Linked DNA regions of Homo sapiens: regions 2 and 3 are each linked to region 1. Evidence: promoter capture Hi-C in 16 types of primary human blood cells and fetal thymus (Javierre and others, 2016). All regions are on one chromosome and are shown on one strand. The core of a region is centred on a gene start or on the middle of the fragment in contact, and the rest is flanking DNA. Distances in the headings are between cores, read along the strand shown. Region 1 holds the start of WARS2 (tryptophanyl tRNA synthetase 2, mitochondrial). Region 2 holds the start of ATP1A1 (ATPase Na+/K+ transporting subunit alpha 1). Region 3 overlaps CD101-AS1 (CD101 antisense RNA 1).

What was found. The method cuts DNA at HindIII sites, captures the fragments that hold promoters and counts their contacts. A CHiCAGO score of 5 or more calls a contact.
Region 2: the fragment with the promoter of ATP1A1 here is called in contact with the fragment with the promoter of WARS2 in region 1 in 1 of 17 cell types (total B cells); the score reaches 5.7 in total B cells.
Region 3: a contact is called between a fragment that was not itself captured here and the fragment with the promoter of WARS2 in region 1, in 1 of 17 cell types (total B cells). The highest score is 6.0, in total B cells.

Annotation. Positions count from the first base shown.
Region 1 is chr1:119,138,065-119,142,603 of GRCh38, forward strand. WARS2 (tryptophanyl tRNA synthetase 2, mitochondrial) reads right to left here and starts at 2,589. Exons shown (of 6, transcript NM_015836.4): 1 at 2,491-2,589. The coding sequence starts at 2,580. WARS2-AS1 (WARS2 antisense RNA 1) reads left to right here and starts at 2,332. Exons shown (of 7, transcript NR_125975.1): 1 at 2,332-2,729; 2 at 3,683-3,749. RefSeq lists an enhancer at 2,361-2,670. The HindIII fragment of the contact is 7,742 bases long and covers 196-4,539 here.
Region 2 is chr1:116,371,201-116,375,739 of GRCh38, forward strand. It overlaps ATP1A1 (ATPase Na+/K+ transporting subunit alpha 1), which reads left to right and starts at 2,044. Exons shown (of 23, transcript NM_000701.8): 1 at 2,044-2,323. The coding sequence starts at 2,312. RefSeq lists silencers at 1,671-2,200, 2,631-2,930 and an enhancer at 3,301-3,420. The HindIII fragment of the contact is 4,966 bases long and covers 497-4,539 here.
Region 3 is chr1:117,052,281-117,056,819 of GRCh38, forward strand. The region is part of intron 1 of CD101-AS1 (CD101 antisense RNA 1); the gene reads right to left. Among named protein-coding and RNA genes, the nearest start is that of CD101-AS1, 4.9 kb to the right of the region's middle. The HindIII fragment of the contact is 6,290 bases long and covers 1-4,539 here.

The sequences.
Region 1 (4,539 bases), core at 1,339-3,838:
TTTCTTGGTTTTTGATGGAACCATTCATATGATAAATATACATTTTTTCCCATTATACTATACTCTTGCAAAATAATTTTTTTCTACAAAGGTTATGAGATATCATAAAAATGTCTAATGCATCTGGTTTAAGAATCCAATGCCTCTTTCACATATTTCTGCATCTGTTCACAAAATCCCTTTGACTTCAAAGGAAGCTTTTCAAGAGAAAAAGAAGATACATACAGGAAAAGTGGCCATAAATTTTTAGTAGTCCTTTTCTAAGGCCATTTTAATAACAGCATTGTGGGACAAGTATCTTCCTCAGAATCCTAAAATATCACAAATGATATTAATGACTAAAGATCTGTATAAAGATTTATGATTTCAAAACGTTTTTCTGGTTATTAAAAAGTGTGTGTCTTCAATTTAGACATGTGAAAAATATGTAATGCTATAAAAGGAAACAAATAACTTTTAACCCACTATTTAGGAAGGCCAAAGCAAAATAAAAAAGTTAAAAATGTTTGTTCCCTTCCAGGCTTTTTTTCTATGTATACGTTTATATAAACACTTATATATAAACATAACATCGTAATAACACTATGAACACAATTTTGTATCTTTTCTCAGTCTTTCAAAAAACCACATTAATCTTTCAAACCATCATTTTCAATGACTGAAATTATATGTAGATTTATACTTTAAAAAAATACTCTCACATTTAATACTTATTCTACTCAAAGCTAAATTAAAGGTTTAGAAACATTCATCGGTACTGGAAATTCTACATCTTGAAACAATCTAGATTAATAATTAACTTTAATAGCCCTATTCATAAATGCCACTGAAACAATAGTAGAGGTTTAAGAAATTTTTTCTTTAGCATTTATAATGACTTAGTGTCTTAAACTTCCCTGGGCAGTCATTAGCAGGCTGCAGTTTGTCTTTTTTTTCTCTCTCTCTTTGATTCTCTATTCTCAAGACATCTTCAATTCTTTAGTTTGGAATAAGGGGAAGTTTGGGTCTACGGCTTAGCTACTTTGATAGCATAGGTGTTAATGTGCTATAAATTATAAATAATCATCTCATTCTAGTTCTGCAGAATCAAACCCTCAAATTTCAAGGAGAGGAATTTTTGATAAATTTATCTAATTTTGAATTGTCTTACCTAACATTGCTGCTGAAATTTAAGGTGACATTTGAATAGTTGTTTGCTGACAAGCAGCTTTCCGGTATATATTAATATATTAGCTTATAAGAATTTTGTGAGGCTCACATTAATAAAAAACGGAAGTTCAAAAAATTTATGACATGACTAGAAAAATAAGTTGAACTTAAATTTTGGTTTTCATAATTACTCTCATTGGCTTTGTTTTGGCTTCATAATCATGGAACTATAGATTTTCCAGAGGTTGAAAGAACATTAACGTGTCAATCAGTCCAGCTCTCTTCCTCCACTCAATATGAGCAAAAAAAGAAGAAAAGTCCCAGAGAGATTGTGACTTGTCACACAGCTGTCAAGTGGCAGACCAAACCCTTGACCTCTAGGCTACCTTCCTGTCTAGCGCTGTTTTCAACACAACAGTTACAATAGGTGCGACATCCTCACACCTACTCATTATGGCAATACATATGCAAATGATGCCGGGAAATTACCTAATAAAATCACATTCTCTCCTTTCTCTCTAGTTCCCAGAATATATCTCCCGTAGATAAAGTATGTCAAAGTGCTTGCCACTGAGACTGTACTTGGAAGACGTTTGGTAAAATCCTGAATAACTGAAAGGGTATCCCCTCCCCCTGACTTTTTTGCTATGAGGGTAAAATTCCAAATATTTAAGACAATTCCCAATAAGACCAGGCCGCGACATGGTCTCCGTACGACGAGATTAATGGTAACAGCAGTGTTGTCAAGCGCAGGACAGGACAAACTCTGTAGCAGCTTGCGGTCACTCTTTCACAGCCTGCTAGATAGAGCAGTGCTGTGGAGCCACCAGGAGCAACCAGAATGGAAGATGCACTGACACTTGCTCAAGTACCACACTGCCAACCTGCTGCCCCGACCCAAGCTGCCCAATGCCTAACAAAACTTCTCTACTCTCTCCGATAGCCCCTTAGCGTGTTGTTAGGGTAAGGAGGGTAAAAACAGTAATAAGACCACAAGAAGAGCAGTCTCTAAAACAACCCGTCTCTGAAAACATCACACGCGGGGTAGGCTCACCGCGTTGCCCGGCAACAGCGGCGGCGCTCCGCTCCCAGAACTGGAGGTGGCGGCAAGAGGTCAGAAAGCGGCGCGCTTTTTCCACCAAGAAACCTTTACGTCATCACGTATCCTTGCAACGTCACTACGCTCTGAGCAGGCCGACAGTCATAGACGAGTAGACCTTAGGCGAGGGAAGGCATGTACTTTCCCTAAGAAGCGGGAGGAGAGAAATAAATAGAGGGCAGTGGGATGAGAAGAACCTCGCGGGATGGGAAGCCGCGGAGGGAAGGGCCGTCTTTGGTTACCTGGAGAGCGGGAGCAGCTGCGGATCCCTTATGAAGTGCCCGGATGAAGCTCCAGCGCTCACGCGCTTTCCGCATTGAGTGCAGCGCCATCTTGAGAAGGGCGGAGCCGTCTTGTTTGGAATGACGTCTGTTCAGAGAGCCAATCCCAGTCTCGCGACTCCTGCTTGCTGGGCGCGGCTTGGGCCTCCAGGCTGCGCAGCGCAGCCGCTATCGGGCGGACTGCAGTTCTTGCCGAGCAGGTGGGGACAGGAGCGGGGTGGGGCTTTAGTGTTTTTCCCTGGATCCCTTGTCTGCTCAGCCTTCCTGGAAGGAGAATTTCCTTGGGGGTTATTAGTAGCAACGCTTTAGACTGGAAGAAAGTCAAGTAGGCTGCATTTCTGATCTTAGCTATGTGAAGGCAACCTTTAAAAAGTTTGTTTAGAAACTCCCAGTTCTCTTAGAGGGTAATATAAGTGGTCTTTTTAGACATGTGTGGCCTCATTTCCCTTTTTTTTCTTTGAGACAAGGTCTCACTCTCGCCCAGGCTGGAGTGCAATGGCGCGATCTCGGCTCACTGCAACCTCCACCTCCCAGACTCAAGCTATTCTCCTGCCTCAGCCTCCTGAGTAGCTGGGACCACAAGGGTGCGCCACCACGCCCGGCTAATTTTTGTATTTTGGTGGAGACAGGGTTTCACCATGTTGCCCAGGCTCTCTCAAACTCCTGAGCTCAAGCCAAGCCATCTGCCTCGGCCTCCTAAAGTGCTGGGATTACAGGCATGTGCCACCGCACTGGACTTATGTGGCCTTATTTCATTCGTCCTGTAAACTTTGTTGAACCCTACCGTAATGTGCTGGGCACTGAAGGTACAGAGAAAGACATATCTTGTCTTCAAGTTGTGTACAGTCTAATAGAGTAGCGGATAAATAAATGATGTACACTTAATAGGTGTTAAAGAAGCAAGCACCGCAAGTTTTAAGGAGGAGTGGTTATGACTGTGGTGTTTCAACCTAGTCTAGGGAAGGCTGCAGGAAGGTTATACCTGATGGAAGAAATTGTTTTGTTTGGGGTTATGAGAAAGTTTAATACAGTTTTTCTGCTTCTGTTAATTCACCTAAAAATCTCCCAGACAGATAACGAGTGTTTCAGTAAAAATATAACTGGAAGAAATTCATGACAATTCCTTTATGTGTTTTGTTTATAATTCATCCAGCTACTGAAAATTACCAAGGAGAGGTAGGAGATAAGAGATGCCTATAAAGGAGCTGAAATCTACCAGGGTAAGACAAAACAGTAAATTAAAACCATATAGGATAATCTTGTAGGTATACAAAGTACTGGTGAAGTTCAAGTATAATTGGTGTAATTTAGAAGTGAGCAGGAAAGGGATGAAGGCAAAAAAAAAACTAGGAAATCAAGTTATAGTCTTCAACAAAGCTGATCAGTTTGGTTTTGGCTGTTAAATTTGAGGTGCTTGTAGTACTTCCAAAATGTGATGCCCATTAAATAGATACATGGGTCTGGAGCTCAGAAGAGATTTGAACTACCAAACAGATGGTAATTGAAACCAAGGAAATCCTTGAGACCATCAGATAGAGTTTGTGGAGTGAAAGTAGCCAGATGATGGAAATAAAGGAGCCAAGAGGTGTTGTAGAACCCAAAGAATGTGATATTACTGAGACCCTGGAAACAAACCTTGCCAGGGGAAGGGGGATATATGTTATGCCTTGTAAAATGCAGTTTAATAAATGCCCTACATGTTTTACTCATACATAGAGCAAAGCATTATAGTACAGTGTTTTACATATATTTTATTAATGAGATTACATGACCCTAGCAATTAGCAAGATTAGCTTTCTGACATCTTTAGTCATCTAGATAGCAAGATAAAACCTAGCAATAAGACTATGGTGCACCAAAAGCTGTCAAAGGGTGTACCTACTTTATTTCTTCAAGAAGTAGTTCTTAGTCGTATCTGCAGACTCCTATGACCAATAATATTTCCGTGGGAGGTATTTCCAAGACATAGTCCCACTAAAAAAGGTGGGACTTTAAGACCACAAGTTTTAT
Region 2 (4,539 bases), core at 794-3,293, 2.8 Mb before region 1:
GTTCCGACCCGTGCTTTATATATTTAGTTGTTGCCGCGGCACTTTTCCCATTCAGACCAGGGCCCAAGGAGTAATTAATCTTTGTTTTTATTTTTATTTATTTATTTTTTTGAGATGGATCCTCACTCTGTCACCAGGCTGGAGTGCAGTGGCGCCATCTCAGCTCACTGCAACCTCCGATTCTGTGGTTCAAGCGAATCTCCCGCCTCAGTCTCCCGAGTAGCTGGGATTACAGGCATGTGCCACTACGCCCAGCTAGTTTTTTTTTGTATTTTTAGTGGAGACGGGGTTTCACCAGGTTGGCCAGGATGGTCTTGATCTCCTGACCTCATGATCCGCCCGCTTCGGCCTCCCAAAGTGCTGGGATTACAGGCGTGAGCCACAGTGCCTGGCCCAGGAGTAATTAATCTTAAACAAGCTATCTTTAGCAAGCAAAAGCATCTTACAAAGTACAGTAACTGAGGCTATCAAGCATGTAAAGAAAGCATTTTCTAGAAGCTTAGAGATGGATCCCCGAACACTCTGTAACCCTCTGTTAACAGTCTAAGGAATTCTGTTCTGAATTTGGGGGCTCTTCTCCAGGCAGTCAGGGTTTTGAATTCTATTTACAATTCCTCTGCTCTCTATGGCCTAGAATGATTGAACCAAGTCTCTAGATCACTGTAGGAGACATCAACCTTTAACAATACATTCTTGAGGAGAAGAGACTCGTGTAAGAAACTATCTTGTAAGAAGGGATGAGAATTACCCTAATGATGTAACTGACAACACAGTTTCTAGTTTTTCCTTTCTTTCCTTCCTTCTCCATTTTTTCCAGTTTCATATCCTTGTTTGTTCATGCTACATGAATACTTGAAGTTGATAGAGTTGGCTTTAACTTAGGAACCTTTGCTTAGAAAGTCAATATCCTGGCCTTTCCCAGAGTACTTGACTTCCTGCAAACCTTGTTAATAATACTTTGTTTTTTAAAATGTTGGAGAACTTCAGCCATTGCAGCCTCTTGCTAAGAAGCAAAAGCTATAATGACAGAGAAGCCCCAAAGTGCAGTGGAACCAGGGATCTCCGGGGAGAGTGGTGGTTTCCTGGGCCCCCCCAGAGAACCCAAGGCTGTGCTGGAGATGCTGCCGTGACAGGTGGAGGCGTGGAGAGGCACCTGGCAAGTCCTCAAACGCCTCCCCCTTGATTTAGCTCCTCTAGCTAAGGATACGCATTCCTTTGGGTTTCAGGTTTTTCTTCCCTAAAAAGAGAATCCCCAAACTGGACAAGCAGGTTACATTCACACAATAGCGTGAATGAATTCGCTGGTCGCCCTTCAGATTCTCATTTTGGAATCTCGAAGAAAGAGAGGTGGTGGGAGGAGGGCGCTTGAAACTTCTGGCGATGCCAGTTCAGATCGATTCCAGCTATGACGGAGCGGGAAGTGGATAAAGAGGACCCCAAGTCACAGGAGGCACTCTGAGAGCACCAAGCGCCCGGGGAGGCCATCCGCAGGTGGGCGCGGGGCCTGGATTCCACAGAGGGGCGGAGTCCCTCAGTCAGGCGCTGGCTGCAATCACACCCGAGCGCCAGCCCCCTCCAGCATCCCTGAGTCCCAGAGGAGATCGCCGAAGCGCTGGAAAAGCCGTTCCGCCCACGACTTCTGGTGCCGGGTCGGCGGCGACTGGGGGAGCCCAGTTCCGAGACCGTACCGCACCCACTGCGGACCTCCTGGGCCCTACATAGTAGGCGGGTCATGCAGGGCAGCGGGAGGAGGGGCGTGGGAGGGCCAAGGCCGCCGAGTCCCCGCTGTTCAGCCAGCAGGAGCGCCCCGCAGCCCTCCCGGGACACGGTGGACACGCTTGTCCCAGACCTGGGCGCCCTCCTGCCGGGAGCCAGGACTGGCCGCAGCAGGCGCTGTCCGGGCCCGTGGGCGGGGTTTCGGGAGGGGGCGGAGCCAGGCCCACGGCCGGTGTCAGGTTGCTCCGGTAACGGTGACGTTTCGCGGCGTGGGCGGGGCCAGCACGCAGGTTGCATATTTTAGGAAGTGAGGAGGAGGCGCGGGCTGGAGCTGCGGCGGGGTCTGGGGCGCAGAGCAGCGGCGGGAGGAGGCGGACACGTGGCAACAGCGGTAGCAGCCCGGGCGGCGGCAGCAACAGCGGCGGCGGCATCGGCCCGAGCCGCCGGCCGCCCTCCCACCCTCCCGCCCCGCGGCAGCCCTAGCTCCCTCCACTTGGCTCCCCTGGTCCCGCTCGCTCGGCCGGGAGCTGCTCTGTGCTTTTCTCTCTGATTCTCCAGCGACAGGACCCGGCGCCGGGCACTGAGCACCGCCACCATGGGGAAGGGGGTGAGTGTCCGGCGCGCCCGGGGAGGGGGCTCGGGGAGCCCTCGAGGGGAAGAGGAGGAAGTCGGGAGGGCGACCGCGGCCAGCGGGAGGCGGCGGAGGAGGAAGCGGCGCCGCGTGGAGTGGGCTGGCAGAGCCGCGCGGCTTAAAAGACGACGCAGTTTGGAAATGGAGGGAGCGCAGTAACGGGGGGCGGGGGAAGGGAGCGCCGAGGGGCTGGAGCGCGGCATTGCTTAGGGGGGTGGGCGGACCCTGGGCGGGGGCTGCGCGCCCCGGAGGCCGAGCGGGCCGGGGGCTCCGAGAGGCGGTGCTTGGGAAGCCTCGGGGCCGGGAGGAGGGGGCTTGCAGCAGCGGGGGCGGCCCCGGGACTGAGCCGGCATCCCTGAGCCTGGCTCCCCTCCCTGCGACCGCCGTCACCTCCTTCTCCTTCCTTTTCCCTCCGCCCTCCGTGCCCTGAGGAAAGGCGCGCTCCTCCCCTTCCCCTGGGGCGCTCCGCCGGGGCCTCCTCCCGGGCCTCCGTTCCCGCCGCGGCCCCGGTTCCGGCGGGGGCAGCCTCCGGGTTCGGGGCTCCTTCTCCTGGGGACGCTGGGGCTTAGCTTGCTCCGCGCAGAGGCGGCCGCCCTCCCCCAAAGAAAAAACTGGCTGCTTCTAAGTGCGAAGCCGGCTGGGCGGGCTGGTGCCAGAAAGGGTGTGTCTTCACTGCCCTAAGATGGCCTTTAAGGTATACTTTTGAGGGCTTTCTTGGGCCACTTTCCGTAAACACAGGATGCACCGATGGCAACTGGAGTTGTCATCCGATGGTGGGGAGAGGCGTGCAGATTTTTTTTGAAGGGACGAGCCCTGAAGGAGGATAGGCAGACCCACCAGGGCCTCAGGGTACAAGAAACCCGAAAAAGGACTGGAGGCTGCAGGCAATACGGTGGTAGGAATCTCTGCCGGTTTCCAGCGTCGCGGAAGCACCAAAGGGCGGTCCCTGAAGGAAACGAGGGGTCTTGGGGCTGGAGAGCGGCGCGGAGCGTGGTGGGAATATCGTCACAACGCCGCTGTCCTACATTTCTGTAGCGAAGACTTGATTACCCCTAGCTATTACCCGTGCAGGAGACTGGGCCCTGGACCCCAAATGAGCCAAAGTCTAGTTGAGAAAAATTTACACAGAATAACCTCGGAGTTCATGGGGTGAAAGTGACCATGTCATGAGAATACAAATGGGAGAGAATCCACTTCGTTGTCTCCAGGGTTTAGCACAGTGCAGACACTGAGTAGGTCTTTGAAGGCCCTGAGGCTTCTGGGTGTAGACAGAGTGTCGGGAGCAGAGGGAGGCTGCACTCCTTGGGGACTCTAAGGGAGTTTTAAAGGAGGTAATTGAAAGGCTTGGACCTGGTGGGGAGAACAGGCACAAGTGGAAATGCACAACTCGCCTCGCTTTTAAAAGCATGCAGCGTGGAGGGCTGGTCCAGGTCAGGTGGCATCAAAGAGCGGAGTACAGGGCCTCTCCATTCCCCTGATGGAGTCTGGGTTAGTGGCCTGTGCTTTTACCACACCGTCAAACCCTTGATCATTTCTGTAAACATGCACTTTAAAGCTCATTCTTTGTCTCTCCTGCCTTAAAAGAAAAAGAAAAAAGTTTACTTCCTGAGCTAATTTTGGGGGGTTTAGACATCACAGATGTGTGCCCCAAGCCTAGGAAGGTGAAGTGACTTGCTCAAGGTCAAACGGTTGGCTAGTGACAGACTAGGCGTCCCTGATTCTTGAACAGCCTGTGGCCTCAAGCCTGAACATGCATTTACTCTTTAACATTGAGTTCTTTATACAGAACTCAGAACTTCGGATGAAACGGGGTATTTGTGATGTTGAATTAATAGGCCATGGAGATGGTTTGGGTAACTAAGTTATGTCCATTTATCTAGATGTCTCCTTTATAACCACACACAGGCACACATGCACAGTAGTGATGCGGTGGTAACCCACCTGAATAGTTAGTAGAGCTTAAACCCAGATGTCTTACAACAAAATGTATAGTGGCTAGCAAACACAAGATTAAATTACAGCTGCGAACACTGGGATGATGAGCTGCTTGGCTGCTGGGTGGTAGTTAGCATTTTGAGTATTCTGATACATTAAACATTAGTTTACTTGTGTGTGTGTTTGTGTGTGTGTTTGTCCTGTGACTTATTGTGAGCGTCCAAATGTTCAGAAGAATATTTCATGTTGGGATTTTT
Region 3 (4,539 bases), core at 1,165-3,664, 2.1 Mb before region 1:
TTGAGCCCGGGAGGCGAAGATTGTAGTGAACCGAGATCATGTCACTGCACTCCAGCCTGGGCGACAGAGTGAGACTCTGTCTCAAAAAACAAGGAAAAAAAAAAGAAATACAACTCAGGATGGCCACCAGAAAACAAGTACATAGCCACTGGAGGTCTTCAGGTTCTAGGTTATCTTGAATGTGTAAAGCAGCGAAGGTTTTAGGGAACAAATGAGCAGTGAGGGTTGAGGAGAAGGTTAGAATTAAGCAGAATAACTGGTATAGGGTTAGGGGGAAGAGGGAAAAAACAGCTTGGTATAAAACTTGAATTAGATACCAAAAAAATGGGTAGGAGGACATGAATAAGAAAGAAAGGATTAATTAGAGGAAAGTTAGGATTGAATAGCTAAGATGAGAACTAGGCAAGTTTAAGAGGTGTTCTGATGAAGGTACAGAGACGTGGGGCCTATGACTGCTCTACTGCTGACAGTATAATAACATTATATGCCATATAAAACAATGGGAGAAAAAAAGAAAAAAACACCAATAATCCTACCATCTTAAATAAGCATTGTTATTATTATTTTGGTACATCCTCTTTGTTATTGTTTTCTATGTGACTGCTTTCAATATCTTTATTGGATTTTAAAAATCGTAACAGAGCAATACATGCTAGTTGTAGAAAATAAAAACTGCACCAATCTCCCAACCCAACCTCCCAGAGGTATATAAATGGAATCATACAGCATATAGTCTTGAAAGTTAATAGTTTTGATGCCAGGTGTGATGGTGTACACATGATCCCAGCCCTTTGGGAGGCCAACGCGGCAGACTGCTTGAGCTCAGGAGTTTGAGACCAGCCTGGGCAACATGGTGAAACCCTGTCTCTACAAAAAATACAAAAATTAGCCAGCTGTGGTGGTGTGCTCTGGTAGTCCCAGTTACTCGGGAGGCTGGAATGGGAAGATCACTGGAGCCTGGGAGAACAAGGCTGCAGTGAGCTGAGACTGCACCACTTCCAGCCTGAGGGGCTGAGTGAGACCCTGTCTCCAAAAAAAAAAAAAAAAACAAATTGACATGACTATACTCATAGTACATAGTACATTGTATAATGTTTGTTACTTAACATTATACAAATGATTACTATGTCTTTTTATGTCTTTGTATTAATAACAATTAATGTCATTTTAACTTAGGTTTAAGTTCCATACAAACGTTAAAGGAAAAAGACTTTCAAGACCATTTAAAAAGAGGAAGATGATGGCTAAAAAGCACACGAAAAAGAGTGCCACATCAATAGAAAAATCAAAATTCAAACAAAAGTCAGATACCACTTCATACCTACTAAAAAAGGCACGCAATAACAAGCATTGTTGAGGACATGAAGAACTGGGAACCCTCATACGTTGCTGGTGGAAATATAAAATGGTATAGCCACTTTGGAAAGTGGTTTGGCAATTTCTTAAAAAGTTAAACAAACTAACCATATGAACTAGCAATTCCACTCACAGGTTTATCTGCCCAAGAGAAATGAGAACAAATGTTCATATAAAGACTTTAACGTTAGGCCGGGTGCGGTGGCTCATGCCTGTAATCCCAGTACTTAGGGAGGCTGAGGCAGATAGATTACCTGAGGTCAGGAGTTTGAGACCAGCTTGGCCAACATGGTGAAACCCTGTCCCTACTAAAAATATAAAAATTAGCTTACGTGGTGGCTCGAGCCTATAATCCCAGCTACTCGGGAGGCTGAGGCAGGAGAATTGCTTGAACCTGGGAGCTGGAGGTTGCAGTGAGCCAAGATCATGCCACTGCACTCCAGCTTGGGTGACAGAGCAAGACTCCATCTCAAAAACAACAACAACAAAAAACAAAAAAACAAAAACAAAAACAATAAAACAGACTTTAACATTAATGTTCATAGCAATATTATTCCTAATAATTCCAAAGGGAAAATGATCCAAATGTCCACCAACTGGTGAATGAACACAATGGAATATTACTCAGCAATAAAAAGGAGTGAAATACTGATACATGTGCAACATGGGTAAACCTCACAAGCATTATGTAAGTGAAAGAAGACAGAGGCAAGAGACTACATATTACATGACTCCATTATATGAAATGTCCAGAAAAGGCAAACTTATAAAGACAGAAAGCATATCAGAGGTTGCCTTGGGACTAGCTGGGGGTGGCAGTTGGGATTGACTGCACACAGCTTTGAGGAAAGTTTTTGAGTGATAGAAATGTTTTAAAACTGGATTCTGGTGGTGATGGCACAACTTTATAAATTTACTTAAACAATGAATTGTGGGCCAGGTGTGATGGCTCATGCCTGTAATCCCAGCACTTTGGGAGGCCGAGGCGGGTGGATCACCTGAGTTCAGGAGTTCGAGACCAGCCTGGCCAACAGGGTGAAACCCCATCTCTACTAAAAATACAAAAATTGGCCAGGCGTGGTGGCGGGCACCTGTAATCCCAGCTACTCGGGAGGCTGAGGCAGGAGAGTCACTTGAACCCAGGAGGCAGAGGTTACAGTGAGCCAAGATCATGCCACTGTACTCCAGCCTGGCAACAGAGTGAGACTCTGTCTCAAAAAAAAAAAAAAAAGAATTGTGGCCGGGCGCGATGGCTCAAGCCTGTAATCCCAGCACTTTGGGGGGTCGAGGCGAGTGGATCACCTGAGTTCAGGAGTTCAAGACCAGCCTGGACAACATGGTGAAACCCCATCTCTACTAAAAATACAAAAATTAGCTGAGCGTGGTGGCACAAGCCTATAATCCCAGCTACTCAGGAGGCTGAGGCAGGAGAATCACTTGAACCCAGGAGGCGGAGGTTGCAGTGAGCCAAGATCCTACCATTGCACTCCACTCCAGCCTGGGTAACAGACAAGACTCCAACTGAAAAAAATACCTGTACATTTACCAAAAAAAAAAAAAAAAAAAAAGAAGAAGATAAAGAGCCTGCATTGAACCACTTTTGGAATAATATTTTAAGAACAGTGAAATTTGGAATCTAGTACTGAAAAAATATTGGTATAACAAAATAATTTGTAAAGTCTCTTGGCTTTACAAATTATAACCACATTTGTTCTCACTATAGTATCATCCTGATCGAGCCTATGTCAAAGGACAAGTTGAAAACAGTCATATGTTTGAAAGGCACAAAATGAAATGAAATGAAATTGAATTACCATTATATATCTTCAAACAAAAAGAATGAAACAGAGGAGGGTGGGCCTCAGTTTGGTTTTTATGTTACTAGGCTGCTACCTAGTGGTCATTTATAAAATGGCAGGACTTGGGTTTTTGGTTTTTGTCTTGGATTTGTTGAGCCATGTCTCTACACCACAGCAAATACCTAAACACTTACCGATGTGTGGGTTAAATATCTGAATGCATTGCTGAATAATTTATGCTTTATAAAAATACTATAGGCTGGGCGCAGTGGCTCAGGCCTGTAATCCCAGCACTTTGGGAGGCCGAGGCAGGTGGATCACCTGAGGTCTCAGGAGTTCGAGACCAGCCTGGCCAACATGGCGAAACCCCATCTCTACTAAAAATACACAAAATTGCTGGGCGTGGTGGTGGGTGCCTGTAATCCCAGCTACTTGGGAGGCTGAGGCAGGAGAATTGCTTAAACCTGGGAAGTGGAGGTTGCAGTGAGCCGAGATCACGCCACTGCACTCCAGCCTGGGCGACAGAGCGAGACTCCGTCTCAAAAAAAAAAAGAAGAAGAAGAAGAAGAAAAAATACTATAGTGGCAAGAACTGGATTGAAAGTTCTGAAAAATGGCCTTTAGTCCCTGATTGGCTGCTGTCAGCTTTGTGACTTTGAGCCAGGTCAAAATTAATCCATGGGGACTATCCGGTTCCAAAGTTTTAGGAGCAGCTCTGTAAGGTAAGTTGGCCTTGGGGCCACCTCCTTAACTGCTCTAAACTTTAGTATCTTCATCTTAAAAATGGGGATAAAAAATCCCATCCCTAGGCTAGTTGTGACAATTAAATGTGACAATGCATATAAAAGTACTATCTCAGAACACACCTCAGGAAAAGTTAGAATATGACTTTCCCTCTCAGAATGTGCCTAATAGGGAACAATCTTTTATCTGCCAATTAAAATTACTCCTTCCCATCCTATCCCAAAGCAACAAGCAAAAACACCAGAAGTTCAGAAAAGTAAATATGATTCTTAGAATGATCTGCTCATTTGAAACATAAATTTGAACAATTTAATTTAAAAAATAATCAATAAAGCATAGCCGCTAGAATTTTACAAATCACTTGAAACTTGGAATTGCTGATTATTTTAAAACAATAAGGTAGTGACCGAGATGTCAAAAGGTGAATGTTCTAGCTCATCCTCTCACCACTGGTATCTTATGGAGGTCTGACATGTTTAATGTATGCCAGCCAGCACAATGCTGACCACAGAAAGTATAATTCTTTCATTTTCCTAGGAATTAAGCTCCACTTTTGTGGGGTTGGACTTGTTCCTGGGTGTGTTGGCTCACACCTGTAATTTCAGCACTTTGGGAGGCTGAGGCAGGAAGACTGCTTGGGC